5 separate regions of the Homo sapiens genome follow, and all the other regions are linked to region 5. The links are contacts of gene promoters, found by promoter capture Hi-C in blood cells and fetal thymus (Javierre and others, 2016). All regions are on one chromosome and are shown on one strand. Each heading gives the region's core, a stretch centred on a gene start or on the middle of the fragment in contact. The rest is flanking DNA. Distances are from core to core; before and after follow the strand shown.

The links. The method cuts DNA at HindIII sites, captures the fragments that hold promoters and counts their contacts. A CHiCAGO score of 5 or more calls a contact.
Region 1: a fragment that was not itself captured here is called in contact with the fragment with the promoter of SLK in region 5 in 7 of 17 cell types (megakaryocytes, activated CD4 T cells, erythroblasts and 4 more); the score reaches 9.5 in megakaryocytes.
Region 2: a contact is called between a fragment that was not itself captured here and the fragment with the promoter of SLK in region 5, in 11 of 17 cell types (naive B cells, naive CD8 T cells, total CD8 T cells and 8 more). The highest score is 8.3, in naive B cells.
Region 3: a fragment that was not itself captured here is called in contact with the fragment with the promoter of SLK in region 5 in 2 of 17 cell types (total B cells and total CD8 T cells); the score reaches 5.1 in total B cells.
Region 4: a fragment that was not itself captured here is called in contact with the fragment with the promoter of SLK in region 5 in 6 of 17 cell types (naive CD8 T cells, non-activated CD4 T cells, M0 macrophages and 3 more); the score reaches 7.0 in naive CD8 T cells.

What each region holds. Positions count from the first base shown.
Region 1 is chr10:104,256,327-104,259,026 of GRCh38, forward strand. All of the region lies in intron 2 of GSTO1 (glutathione S-transferase omega 1), which reads left to right. The region is part of intron 1 of LOC124902497 (a long non-coding RNA gene); the gene reads right to left. Among named protein-coding and RNA genes, the nearest start is that of GSTO1, 2.8 kb to the left of the region's middle. The HindIII fragment of the contact is 691 bases long and covers 998-1,688 here.
Region 2 is chr10:104,226,868-104,229,567 of GRCh38, forward strand. All of the region lies in intron 2 of CFAP43 (cilia and flagella associated protein 43), which reads right to left. Among named protein-coding and RNA genes, the nearest start is that of CFAP43, 4.1 kb to the right of the region's middle. The HindIII fragment of the contact is 3,831 bases long and covers 1-2,700 here.
Region 3 is chr10:103,680,113-103,682,812 of GRCh38, forward strand. The region is part of intron 6 of SH3PXD2A (SH3 and PX domains 2A); the gene reads right to left. Among named protein-coding and RNA genes, the nearest start is that of SH3PXD2A-AS1, 65 kb to the right of the region's middle. RefSeq lists an enhancer at 1,869-2,649. The HindIII fragment of the contact is 5,817 bases long and covers 1-2,700 here.
Region 4 is chr10:103,697,826-103,700,525 of GRCh38, forward strand. The region is part of intron 5 of SH3PXD2A (SH3 and PX domains 2A); the gene reads right to left. Among named protein-coding and RNA genes, the nearest start is that of SH3PXD2A-AS1, 48 kb to the right of the region's middle. The HindIII fragment of the contact is 6,444 bases long and covers 1-2,700 here.
Region 5 is chr10:103,965,776-103,968,481 of GRCh38, forward strand. It overlaps SLK (STE20 like kinase), which reads left to right and starts at 1,365. Exons shown (of 19, transcript NM_014720.4): 1 at 1,365-2,120. The coding sequence starts at 1,971. It overlaps LOC102724351 (a long non-coding RNA gene), which reads right to left and starts at 1,270. Exons shown (of 5, transcript XR_007062282.1): 1 at 6-1,270. RefSeq lists silencers at 1,227-1,686, 1,727-1,776, 1,787-1,886. The HindIII fragment of the contact is 5,644 bases long and covers 1-2,706 here.

The DNA of each region.
Region 1 (2,700 bases), core at 93-2,592, 290 kb after region 5:
CAAAATTGAAAAAAGACATTTTTTGGTACTCATTTATTTGAAAAGTCCAGGAGCATGACACAGCTGGATTCAGAGGCACAAAGTCCTGGGTTATGTGCTTCACCCTGGACCTTTAGTTTGAAAACAACCCTACCTTATTTACTGGGGCAGTTTTCCAAAGGAACATTGAAACTATCTTCCCCTAATAGTGTGGGGTAGAGGGGAGGAAGAGAGTGGTTAACAGCTTCCAGACAGTGCAAACAACAAAGGTCTACTACATTAATAGACCAGTTTTAAGCTTGAGCCCGAGGAGGCTTTTACTGGGAAAGTACTAGATTTTAACCACATGATATGACTTAACAAAGCATGGTTTTCTCTAAAAGATGCATCTTCCAACTTGCTGTGGCAGGTGTGTAGACTTGTTGGCTCACAATGCCAGCTTACCAAAATTCATGTGTGTTCTGACATACTTTTTTTTTTTTAAATAACAAAAGCCCAGGATCTTTTTGTTTTCATAGTAACAAAAGTTTTTGTTTTATAGTTCAAAAATGTTGATAATTCTTTGGCAAGGAGCCAAATAATTTTTTTTTTTTTTGCAATGGCTGGTACTTAAGTGTCCAGTATTGTCAGCACATGAACCTTTTAAATTACATGCACACCTGTGCTCATGTTCAAATTGGATGTTCCTTTGTTTACATGGGGGATTATGTATTTAAATCCTCAAATGAAATGCTGTTCTAGCTACAGCTGTGGATGGGAAAATAGAAAACAAAAGGTATTGGTGTCTATTTTTTTTTTAGTAATCTGTTCTATTGAACATTTATTCAGCCTTGACAATCATATGGACCTAGCTCCTTTCTCTTAGTTCCTCTACAGTCTCAGGCAACATACAAGATAGACCTAAATACAATCTGACTATAGCCTGGACTTCACCTGTTTTCTTCCTTTTTGGTTTACTTTGTATGATTTACTCAGACAACATTTTTTAAAAAATCAGTACATGGAGATTTAATCTGAAAGCTTATTTTGTGGGTGGATTTTTTTTTTTTTTTCGAGACAGGGTCTCGCCCTGTCACCCAGGCTGGAATGCAGTGGTGCAATCATGGCTCACTGCAACCTCTGCCTCCAGGGCTCAAGCAATCTTCTCACCTCAGCATCCGGAGTAGCCGAGACTACAGGTGAGTACCACCACACTTGGCTAATTTTTATATTTTTTGTAGAGATAGGGTTTCATCATGTTGCCCAGGCTGGTCTTGAACTCCTGGGTTTAAGCAATCCGCCCACTGCAGTCTCCCAAGGTTCTGGGATTACAGATGTAAGCTACCAAGCCTGGCCTTGTGGGTGGATTTTAAGGATTCCTTAATATCTTCATAAAAACCAAGAAACTTTTTACTCAAATTAGCAAAATAAATTGAATTTTATGTTGGTTCTCATATAGTGGATAGTGGACACAATTCAATTAGTTGCCTCATATGATTTATAACTAAGATACCTCTTAGCCATAAATGGAGTATCTTATTGACAATTTTGAAGCATTTCCACAGATTTATTCATTCATTTATATGAAATATTTCAAAACAAAAATATTTACTGAGTCCTTATTTGAAACTTTTTATTTTCTTCAGAGCATTTATATCTATATAGCATTTTGCTCATTTACATGTTTGTTTATTACTATGAACAGATACACAAGATCCCACCTTTCGTGAAGCTTACATTCTAGGAAGATAACAAACTTGTAAATAAGTGAGCAAAGTAATTTCAGATACATATTATCAGTTCAATGAAGAAAGTAAAACATGATAATCATGTAATAGAAGCTGCTCAGCAACTTCAGAGCTATGGTCAGGGAGGGCCTGGGGATGTGTGTTTGACCTGGGAAGACCTGGGAAAAGGCAGGCAGAGGAGGCAGAGGACCATCAAGTGCAAAGACTCTAAGGTGGAAACACATTTGGCAAATTCAAGGAATATAAAAACCGCCAACGTGTAAAAGAAAACATAGGGGAAAAGCTTCATGACACTGGCCTTGGCAATGATTTCCTGGACATGACACCAAAGACCAGGCAACAAGACCAAAAATAAACACATGAGACTACAGCAAACAAGCTTCCACACAGCAAAGGAAACGATTAACAGAGCAAAAAGGCAACCTATGGAATAGGAGAAAGTACTTGCAAACCACATACCTGGTAAGGGGTTAATCTCCAAAATACATAAGGAATCTCTACAACTCAACAACAAAAAAACCTGATTTTAACATGGGCTAAGATCTTACATAGACACTTCTCAGGCTGGGCATGGTAGCTCACGCCTATAACCCCGAGGCAGACAGTTCACTTGAGCCCAGGAGTTCAAGACCAGCCTTGGCAACATGGCAGAATCCTGTCTCTACAAAGAAATTAGCTGGGTGTGATGGTGCACGCCTGTGGTCCCAACTACTCGGGAGGTAGGAGGATCGCTTTAGCCCAGGAGGTCGAGGCTGCAGTGAGCTGCGATCAAGCCACTGTACTCCAGTCTGGGAGACAGAGTGTCAAAAAAAATTAAAAATTAAAAAAATAGACATTTCTTCAAAGAGGATATAAAAATGGGCAACACATATATGAAAAAGTTCTTATCACTAATCATCAGGAAAATGCAAATCAAAATCACATAATAACCTCACACTTGTCAAGATGACTATAATGAAAAAAGACAAGTGTTAGCAAGGATGTGTAGAAATCA
Region 2 (2,700 bases), core at 18-2,517, 260 kb after region 5:
ATTAGCCGGGTGTGGTGGCAAGCACCTGTAATCCCAGCTACTTGGGAGGCTGAGGCAGGCGAATCGCTTGAACCTGGGAGGCGGAAGTTGCAGTGAGCCAAGACTGCGCCACTGCACTCCAGCCTGGGGGACAGAGCAAGACTCTGTCTCATCATATATATATAATATATGATAATCCATTTTTAAATGGAATTGGATCATAGTGTTGCCTCCTATTGGTTTTTTATTTACGTTATATTGACCATTTTATCATTATCTTAACACTTCTTTAAAAGTGTGATTTTTAATGTTTGCATAATACCCCTTTATAGTATATTTTATTTAACTATATCCATAATACTGGAGATGTAGGTTGCTCCAACCTTGTGCTATTATCATAGTGCTTTTTAAGCTCATTTGCATGTAAATCTTTGACCATATTTCTAACCATTTCCTAAAAATTGAATTCGTCTTGAAGTGAGTATACTGGGTCAAATAGAGTCAATATTTATTTCACAGAAAGACTCTATCAATTTATAGTCCCACCTTCAGCAAATAAGAGTGCTACCAATTTCACTGCATTCTACCTAGCAATTATGATCATAAAAAAGTTGTGACCTTGATAGGCAGAAAAATAGCATCTTGGTTTAAATCACACTTTTTAAAACAAATCTTGAGATGAAACATTTTTTGATGTCTTTGGTTATTTGGAGTTTAGTGATTTGTCTGGGTTAATTTCTTTTCCATTGTTCTAAGAGGCTGTTTGTTTTGTTCTTGTTTCATTAATGCTCTGAAAATATTTGATCATATTTGTTCCAAATATTTTACCTGGTTTATTATTTCCCTTTTAATTTTTCATGGTGTTTTTGATGTTAATCAGTTTAAAACAGATATACAATCAAATATGTCTGTCTTTTCTAAGTTTTTGTTTTGTGTGAAAAGTTCTTCCCCTTCCTGGAATCACTCCTCTATTCTACCATGTTTTCTACTTTTTTTTTTTTTTTTTTTTTTTTTTTTTTGAGACAGAGTCTTGCTATGTTGCCAGGCTGGAGTGCAGTGGCGTGATCTCGGCTCGCTGCAACCTCCGCCTCCCGGGTTCAAGCGATTCTGCATCAGCCTCCTGAGTAGCTGGGATTACAGGCATGCGCCACCATGCCCAACTAACTTTTGTATTTTTAGTAAAGATGGGGTTTCCCCATGTTGGCCAGGATGGTCTTGATCTCCTGACCTCGTGATCCACCTGCCTTGGCCTCCCAAAGTGCTGGGATTACAGGCGTGAGCCACTGTGCCCGGCCCATATTTTCTACTATTTTCAAGTGGATTTGTTATTTATATTTAATGCTTTTTTTCATCTGATATAGACCATGAGTATCTAACTTGATACTTTTGTTAAAATATGCAGTTTTCTTAACCACTGTTGAATAATCTATATTTTTTCTTCTTTCTTCCTCCTCCTCCTTCTCTTCCTCCTTCTTTTTGGTGGTAGCCTCTTTCTTCATTTACTCAGCTTTTATATACTTTAGATTCTGTCCCAAGTCTTCAACTCTCCCACTGATTTGGTGATCCCTGCACCAGTGCCATACTTCTAATTACTATGGCACCATAATATTAAAATGACCCTCTGCCTTGCCATCATTCTCTTTCAAATTATTCTCATTCTCTATGTTTTATTTTCCCAGATGAATTTTGGAATCATTTGAGTACTCCTTGCTGTCTAAAACATAGGATAAACCTACAAATTACTTTCTATGACAAATCTCAGAAATATATTTATAATAACCAGGCTTTCCATCCAGGAATATATTTCTATATATTTAAATATTTTAAATCAATGATTTTTGTAGTTTTCTTCCCCTAGGTCACTCACACTTTTTTTTGAATTATTTCTAAGTATGTATATGTTCTAATTGTATGGGTACTTATTTCAAAACCAGCATCTTACTGAGCATTCTTTTGTTAGTCCTAGCAGACTATCGCATTATCCATCATCCCCTTTCCCATAGCTATATTTTTTTCAGTTTTATATTTTGTTGCATTGGCTAGAACTTCCAGGTTGATATTAAATAATAGTGATAACAGGTCTCTCTGATTAATATTACTGATTAGTATTACTGGGAATTCCTTTAGGGCATCATTATTCAGTAAGACTCCTGGGTATTGGTTTGAACTAACTTTCAATTGGTTCAAACAGAACTACAGCCAAATAACCAACCTGGGGAAATTTTAAAGATAAAGGGTATAGTCCACCTAGATAGTCCCCAACATGTGAATGGGTTATGTTTTGAAAATTGTCTTAAACTGTTGAGAATGCAAATTTCACCACAAACAAAGTATTATAAATTATAGTGAAGTTCCCTGACTTCATCCAAACACTTATTTGACCCTTAAGACTACAGAGCTAAGTCCAGCCTCAAGCATGAGCTTTCTGCCCATGGGGTGTTAAATGAAGGAATCATTAGCTGGTGGCTCCAGCAGACGTGCAGCAGCTCAGTGTGGGTCAGCTGTATCTAAGAAAGAGTCATTAGGCCGGGCACAGTGGCTCACGCCTGTAATCCCAGCACTTTGGGAGGCGGAGGTGGGTGGATCACTTGAGGCCAGGAGTTCGAGACCAGCCTGGCCAACATGGTAAAACCCCATCCTCTGCCAAAAACATAAAAAAAAAAAAAAAAAAGCCGAGCATGGTGGCGCACACCTGTAATCCCAGCTACCTGGGAGGCCAAG
Region 3 (2,700 bases), core at 41-2,540, 290 kb before region 5:
GGGATTACAGGCGCCCACCACGACACCAAGCTAATTTTTGTATTTTTGTAGAGACAGGGTTTCACCATGTTGGCCAGGCTGGTCTCAAACTCCTGACCTCAAGTAATCCGCCCAACTCGGCCTCCCAAAGTGCTGGGATTACAGGCGTGAGCTACCACACCCGGCCTGCCTTCTTTATGTTTTATTTTGAGATAGGGTCTTGCTCTATTGCCCAGGCTGGAGTGCAGTGGTGCGATCACCATTCACTGCAGCTTTAACCTCCTGGGCTCAACAATCCTTCTTTGCCCTCCCGAGTAGCTGAAACCACAGGTGTGTGCCACCACACTGGACTAATTTTTTATTTTTGTAGAGAAGGGGTCTCACTAGGTTGCCCAGGCTGGTCTCAAGCTCCTGGGCTCAAGTGATCCTCCCACCTCAGGTTCCCAAAGTGCTGGGATTACAGGCGTGAACCACCACACCCAGCAAACTCTGTTTCTGAGCACAAGGAAGCAAAGGGACTTTCTAACATGACCCAGTTGTCTTGGTGCAAGACTTTATTCTAACAATAAATAACAAAATACATTTTCAAGCTGGCTGCTTGGGCCACACATGGCAATGATGAAATCCAGGGGGCAAGGCAGAAAGAAGAGAGTCAGGGAAAAGCATGATTTTCCTGTAAACTTCTAAGTTTTATGGAAACTCAGGAAAAAAATATTTTTTTCTTTCACACTTCGAAACAGACCAATTCTAAAAATGCCACGTGCCGACTAAGTTACACACACCACTTTTCTGTTTCTAAAAGTAACTTTAGATTAGAAAAAGGTGCTAAAACAATAAGTAATGCACATTTCCCCCATGTCTTTGTTTTTCCGCCGGCTTTGTCATCACTGGAAAGGTTGCCTCTTCTGTCACGTGTCTATAAACCAAACGCTGAAGTGAGGAACCAGTGACTTTCTGGCCGTGGGCCACGGTGGGAAACATTTCTTTGCTGGACCACAATTTGGGTATTTCCTCCCCCAGCAACAAAACCTTCTGGAAATGAAAGGCAGATGGTGTCTCTCATCAGGTCAGGGCTGGGTAGGCCCCTCAGATAGCCATTCTCCAAGACTCCAAATGCTGGGCTGTGTTTCAGGGGTAAGAGACTTGGGAGTCCTGTCCTCCATTCCTGCCCCCGTAGCCCACCCTCCCATCTCAGGAGACAACTGAATGTTCTTCAAGGAGCAGTCCCATCCAGGCATCATCCAGGCACCATTCATCTTGGGGATGCCAATCCCCCTGCCATCTTGCTGCCTGTCTACCCTGAACATGGCCATCAACCCACATGGATGACCCATCAAAGACGCAACCCTAGCTTGATTTCAGAAGCCCTGGGAAGCCTGTCAAAAATGCAGATTGGCTGGGTGCAGTGGCTCACGCCTATAATCCCAGCACTCTGGGGGGCCAAGGCAGGAGGATCTGCCTGGCCAACATGGTGTAACCCTGTCTCTACTAAAAATACAAAAATTAGCCAGGTGTTGTGGAGGGTACCTGTAGTCCCAGCTACTCAGGAGGCTGAGGCGGGAGAATCACTTGAACCCAAGAGGCAGAGGTTGCAGTGAGCCAAGATCGCACTACCACACTCCAGCCTGGGTGACAGAGTGAGACTCCATCACACACACACACGCGCCCGCGCGCGCGCGCGCACACACACAAAATGCAGATCGGCCAGATGCGGTGGCTCATATCTATAATCCAGCACTTTGGGAGGCCGAGGTGGGTGGACTGCTTGAGGAGCTTGGGAGTTTGAGACCAGCCTGGGCAATATGGTGAAACCCTGTCTCTTAAGAAAATGAAAAAATGCAGATACCTGGGCGTCACTCCAGACACGCTGATTCAGTAGGTCTGGGCAGGCCCTGGGAATCTGTATTTCAATGAGCAGACTCAAGATTCTGCAGTTCACTTTTGCCCATGCAGTTCCCTTTTGGACCAACTTCCTATTTTCCTAGCAGGAGAAACTGGGTGATAGGAGTGAGGGGGCAGAGGCAGCTGTGCAAGCAGGGCTGAGGGAATTGAGGCTTCCAACTAGCTGCCTCCTTCTGGGGATTCCAGGATCCGGGGAGCGCTTGCCACGCCCCTGCCCCCTCCCCGCTCCGCCTTGCTCTGTGTGTCCAGGCCAATTGGGCAGTGGGGCTCAGCCACCTCGAGCCAGGGAGCGTGGCGCAGACACACACGTGAGCAGCACTCACTTTCTCCATCGCATCACCGCCACGTGGGCTGGCCGCAGAGTTGCCAAATCAATCAGGCTCCTTTCATTTCCAATTAGATGGCTTTGAACTCCAAGGGTAAAATCAGGCTGAGGACCCAGAGCCATGCAAATAAAAACTGTTTAAAAACACCAGCCCAGAGGCTGGCTGCGGTGGCTCATGCCTGTAATCGCAGCACTTTGAGAGGCCGAAGAGGGTGGATCACAAGGTCAGGAGTTCAAGACCAGCTTGGCCAACATGGTGAAATCCCATCTCTACTAAAAATACAAAAAATTAGCCAGGCATGGTGGCATGCATCTGTAATCCCAGCTATTCAGGAGGCGGAGGCAGGAGAATTGCTTGAACCTGGGAGGCAGAGGTTGCAGTGAGCCGAGATCGTGCCATTGCACTCCGGCCTGGGCAACAGAGCCAGATTCCGTCTCAAAAAAAAAAAAAACAAAACAAACCACGAGCCTGGGTAAGATGTGCCAGAAGCTGA
Region 4 (2,700 bases), core at 79-2,578, 270 kb before region 5:
GGAAAGGCACTGAACAATTCACATGTGTTGTTCCCCTGTTTTGACACATGGCTCCCCACACTCTGCCTTCCCCTTGAAAACTCCCAGGATTTATTCTTTGGTGTTCTGAAGTAGGCAGAGCAGGTGCTCACCCATTTCATGGATGAGGAGATTGAGGTCTGAGGCTTCAGTGGCTGGCCCAGGCTCCTGAAGCTAAACAGACAGCCCTGACCCACAATGCTCCAAAGGGGCCACGCTGAGGCCCACTAGGGATTTGGCCACAAGGAGAGGTCACACCAGCAGCGGGCAGCAGGCCCTCGCTGGGGAATGGAGATTGCCATCCTGCCGTTCAGAGTTCCCAGAGTGAGAGGTGAAGCCAGGAAGAGCCACTGAGGCACGGGAGAGAGAGGAAAGGGGGCTGGGCCTGGCTGGGCCGGCTCTGTGGAAGGGTGCTGAGTACCTGCCAGGTGGAGTTCTGCTGAATGCTGCAGGGTTGTACCCTCCACTGCCCGCCACACCCCTCACCACTCTCCCTCCCACTGGCAAGTGCCTTGGCAGAGAAGGACACACACACAAACTTCCAGCCTGATGTTCTCACCCTTCTGTCTGCCAGCTGACATTGGCTGCTGGGCCCAGGATGCCTGTCTGCGGGGCCTACAGCCACTGGGAACTGCTCAAGAGGCCGGCTGGGCTGCCAGACAGCTGACTTGGGGGTGACCTTCAGAGCCCAGCAGTCACTGGGGACATGGGCACTATCTAGAATATGAGGGCTGGAGAAGATGCAACCTTGGCCAGGGGAGTGACGTGGGGCTCTTGAGGTACATAATGATTTTGACTGCTGTTATCAACCTAAAAGCACTTTTTAAGCTCTCGCTGTAGGCAACCTCATTAAGGCCTGTGCAGGCAGGCAGAAGAGATATATGTGACATAAGTCCAACGAGAAAGCCAACATTCTCAGACAATCCACGCTGAGAATTACAGGAGGGGTTACACTCAGTGCAGAGAAAAGAGAGGTCCTGGGGGCTACAGAACATCCCAGGTAGCTTCCTGGAGGAGGAGGCCTTAAAGGACAAGGGGGTTTGGATCCATAGAGGGATGCAGGGGGAAAGCTCTACAAGCAGGAGCAAGCAGCTCCAAACAGTTGTGGACTGGGCAGTGAGGGTAGTGGGTGGACGGGCCAGGAAAGGCAAGGCTGAGCAGGGCTTTGATGTCTGGCTGTGAAATCCAGAAGTTTGCAGAATTGGGGAGTGATTTGGTCAGATCCTGGCTGGAGGAAAATTTTGTTAAGAGGAGAGGTTGACAGCTGGGGGTTGGGGGCAGGAGAGGGGCTGTCAAAGTCCAGTGCTGAATGTCCACAGACCCGGGTTCTGGGCCCAGCTCTGCCCCCTCAGGGGCTGGTGACCCTGGACAAGCCACTTCAAACTAGTGCTTTTCAAATGACAGGCAGTGACCCATTAGTGAGTTTCAGAATCAATTTAATGGTCCCAATGAGCATTTTAAGAAGAACAGACTAGAAATGATCAGCGAGTCACCCCTGGCAAGGCTGTTTTGTGGCACCTGCATCAGATGTCTGTCTGCGTATCGAGCTGCAGTGTGATATTTCCCACTGTGGCAGGAGCCCTCGGATTCCCCAGTCCTAACAGGAGGCTACTCTGAGTGTCCTCACAGGGCTATTGTGAGAATTCGAATTATCTGTGAAACCTCCATAGTGAGATGGAGCATGTTCTTCCAGAAACCAAGTGAGGAAGGTCTGAGCAAAGGGCTGGGCGAAGGGGCTTTGGGTCACTGAGGTCTGGAGAGTTGGGGTTTTTTTTCCACCCCTTAGCCCCTAGCTGGGTTTTTGTTCTGGCTTTTGAGAGCCTTTGCACGGAATGGCCTCCAGAGGCAGCAACCTCCAGGCAAGACAGACAGAGGGGCCTGCAGGCCATTCTCTGCCCCCATTTGCTCCCTGATCTAAATCGTGGCACTGAGGGCCCTTGTGTTTAACAAGAATCTGTCCTTTCTCCGCAGGGCCTGTGTTTTCCAGGGTTCTGAGAATGGACCCCATTGTGACCATGTGGCTTGTCCAGAGGGGCCGGAATTCCTGCCCTGGGTGAAAAAGCTGAATTCCTGCGGAGAGAAGGGGTCTTGGGGCTCCCCAGGCTGCATCCCAGAGAGGCCAGATGCTATGGCCATCATAGACCCCAGAACCCCGCCCCCCAGGCATTTTGTCTCCTGAACATCCCAGAGGGTCTCTGCTGCTGCCCTGTCCACAGCAAAAGAACAAAGCACTGTCTGTCTGTCTCCTCTGACTTGTTCCACTATTCTGGGCAAAGGCCCTAAGTGTGTCTTCAGCCACAGGACAAGTTTTACCATGTCCAGGCCTCAGAGCAGGGAGTTAAAAGGGCAGGTGGGTTAGAACCCTGGTTCAGCCACCTAGTGCTTTGTGATATAAACAAGTGACTTCACCTCTCTGTACCTTCGGTTGTAAAAGGGGGTTAAAATAGTTGCTATCTTACAGAGCTGTCGTGGGGATTACATGGGATAATGTGCAAAGCTCTTAAATGGCATCTGGCCCATGGAAAGGACCCGTAGCCCAATAGCCTGGGTTCACAGGGGGCTAGACTAGGAGTGTGGATGGTGGCCGCAATGCAGGAGGTGCTGACTGCCTACCTTCTCAGTGTGGCCTGTGTGAGACCCTGGCTCTGTCACTCAGGGCACTGATGCAGGACCATGATGACA
Region 5 (2,706 bases), core at 115-2,614:
CATACATTGTCTCTGCTCCAGATACCGCCATTCATTCATTCATTCACCAGATCTGCCTTCCTATTATATGCCAGGAATGTTGCCGGGTACTTGGATATCTTGATGAACAACAAACCACTGGCCTGAAAGAGCTCCCGTCTGGTGGAGGAGGGGAAGGTAGGTCACCACCTGACGGATTCCAGCCAACGTCCACACTGCCCCACCAGGGAGTGCTGCCCAAGGGGGCTGGAGGCAGATCAGGAAGTGGGGGCCTTAGCTGAGGTGGAGTCACCAAGAGTGACACCAGGTTTACAGTTGTGGAGGTGGCCAGAAGTTAGTTTTACCCTCAAGGGAGTGTCGCAGTCATCAGTTGAGAAGTGGGGGCCCGGCGCGGTGGCTCACGCCAGTACTTTGGGAGGCCGAGGCGGGCGGATCACGAGGTCAGGAGATCGAGACCATCCTGGCTAACACGGTGAAACCCCGTCTCTACTAAAAATACAAAAAAATTAGCGGGGCGTGGTGGCGGGCGCCTGTAGTCCCAGCTACTCGGGAGGCTGAGGCAGGAGAATAGCGTGAAGCCGGGAGGCGGAGCTTGCGGTGAGCCTAGTTCGCGCCACTGCACTCCAGCCTGGGCGACAGATCGAGACTCCGTCTCAAAAAAAAAAAAAAAAAAAAAAAAAGAAAGAAAGAAAAAAAAGAGAAGTGGTCTTAAACAGTTTTTATGTATCTGTGTCTATCTTGCCTGCACACTTAAAACAACAAGAGTAAGAACTAAGATTGAGCGTTTACGGGTGCAGGGGCCGCGCAAAGGGCTTCCATCTATTGTCTCATTCACAACCTTCTGGTAGGGACTATTAGGATCTTCATTTTACGGCGAGGAAACCGAGGCTCGGAGAGGTCACCTGCCCAAGGTCACAGATCTCTCTCTCCAAAGCTCAAGCTCACAACCACCACACAAACTCCCCTCTCACTGTACCTGGGGCCCGTCTGAGAGCGAAAAAGTCCGCTTTCAGGTCCCAACCCTAACAGGTCCGGCTTTCACTCCACAGTTTTTCCCAGATCCAGAATGGAGACAACATCCGCTAGCACAATCAACAGGGTCGTCCCACGGGGGCCGCTCCATCAAGGCCGTGGACTGACAGGATTTGGGGCTTGGAGGGCAAATGAGAAACAATCGTCAGGGACCGAAGAACAAATGCGTCCATCACACCAGCCCCCCGCACCCCGAGCCCCGTGCTCCGCTCACGCGAACCCTCGGGGGCAGCCAGTCTGAGGGACGTAGCGCGCGTGCGCGGGGCCAGAGGGGACGCCCCCACGCGAGCGCGCGGTGAGCAGGGCGCGTGACCGGGCGGGCGCGCAGCCGGGAAAGCGCGCGGGCGCGCTACGGAGTCGGCGTCGGCGCGCGCTCCAGGCCGAGGCTGTGTGGGCTGGGGAGGGAGACAGGCGGCGGCGGCGGCGCCCCAGACCCGAGGGGACGCGCGGGCCTTGCGCCGCGGGAGCGGACGGCGGCGGAGGAGACCCTAGGCTCGCGGCCCGAGGCGGGAGGGCTCGGCTTCTCGACTGCCCGCCTCCGAGGCCGCCGGCCGCTTCTCTCTCCCAGAGTGGCCGCCGCCCCTGGAGACTCGCCGTGACACGGGCCTAAGCCGCCGCCGCGGGAGTCCTGACCGCTCGGACCCGTCGGATCAGGCCGGGTGGGAGCGAGCTTGCGGGCAGGTGCCGCTCCCGGAGGGTGGGCCGGAGGCGAGGCGCCCACCGCGCGGCTCGCGGGCCGGGCTCGGCGGAGGGGCCGCTCGCGCAGCACCCCCACCGCGGGCCGGAGCCCGGGTCGCCGCCCCGCCTTCTCCCGGGACCGCCCGGCCGGAGCTGCGGGGGCCGAGGGACGCCGCGCCCGCCGCCGCCAGCCGGGCTCGCGCGGGAGAGCAGGGAAGAGAAACTTTGCCTTTTATTGTTTTTAGTCCTTAAGTGCAAGGAACTCTGTGTTGGGAGGAAAAATGTCCTTCTTCAATTTCCGTAAGATCTTCAAGTTGGGGAGCGAGAAGAAGAAGAAGCAGTACGAACACGTGAAGAGGGACCTGAACCCCGAAGACTTTTGGGAGATTATAGGAGAACTGGGCGACGGAGCCTTTGGGAAAGTGTACAAGGTAAGAGGGGGAAAACGGGAAGTTGTACTGCGAAGGTAAAACAGCCACTGGCCTGGAGTGGCGGGAGGACTTCTGCTCCCCTGGTCCTTATCCTGTCCTTCTTTTGACTGTTACGGTTCGATGCAACTTTACTTGGCTGATCATCCAAGGAGTAGCTAAGAAGTCGGGTTTACGGTGGAACAAAATGGGGCCTGGATGGAGTTTAAAGAGCGATTGGAAAAGGAGACAGGGTTATAAAGTCTACTCTTTCAAACTTCAAAGGAAATGAGAGTGTTCTTTAATTTATAGGAGGGGTCTGGTTGTGCCCTTCAAGTATTTTAGAATGAGAAACTCATTGCACTTTGCAGTGGATTTGTCTACTGACTGCATTCGCGTGCATGCTTGTACTCCAACAGTTCTGTTTTTAGGGTCCAGTATATATATTTGGTTGTATCTAGAGCTAATACAGAACTAGTTGGGATCAAAGTGATTGCTACTTGCAGTCTCTTCTTGAGTTAGTTGCTTGACAGCATACTATAAAATAGAATGGAATTTCTGACAAAATTTCCAAAAAACCTTCATGTGGTACTAGTTTTAAATATATTTA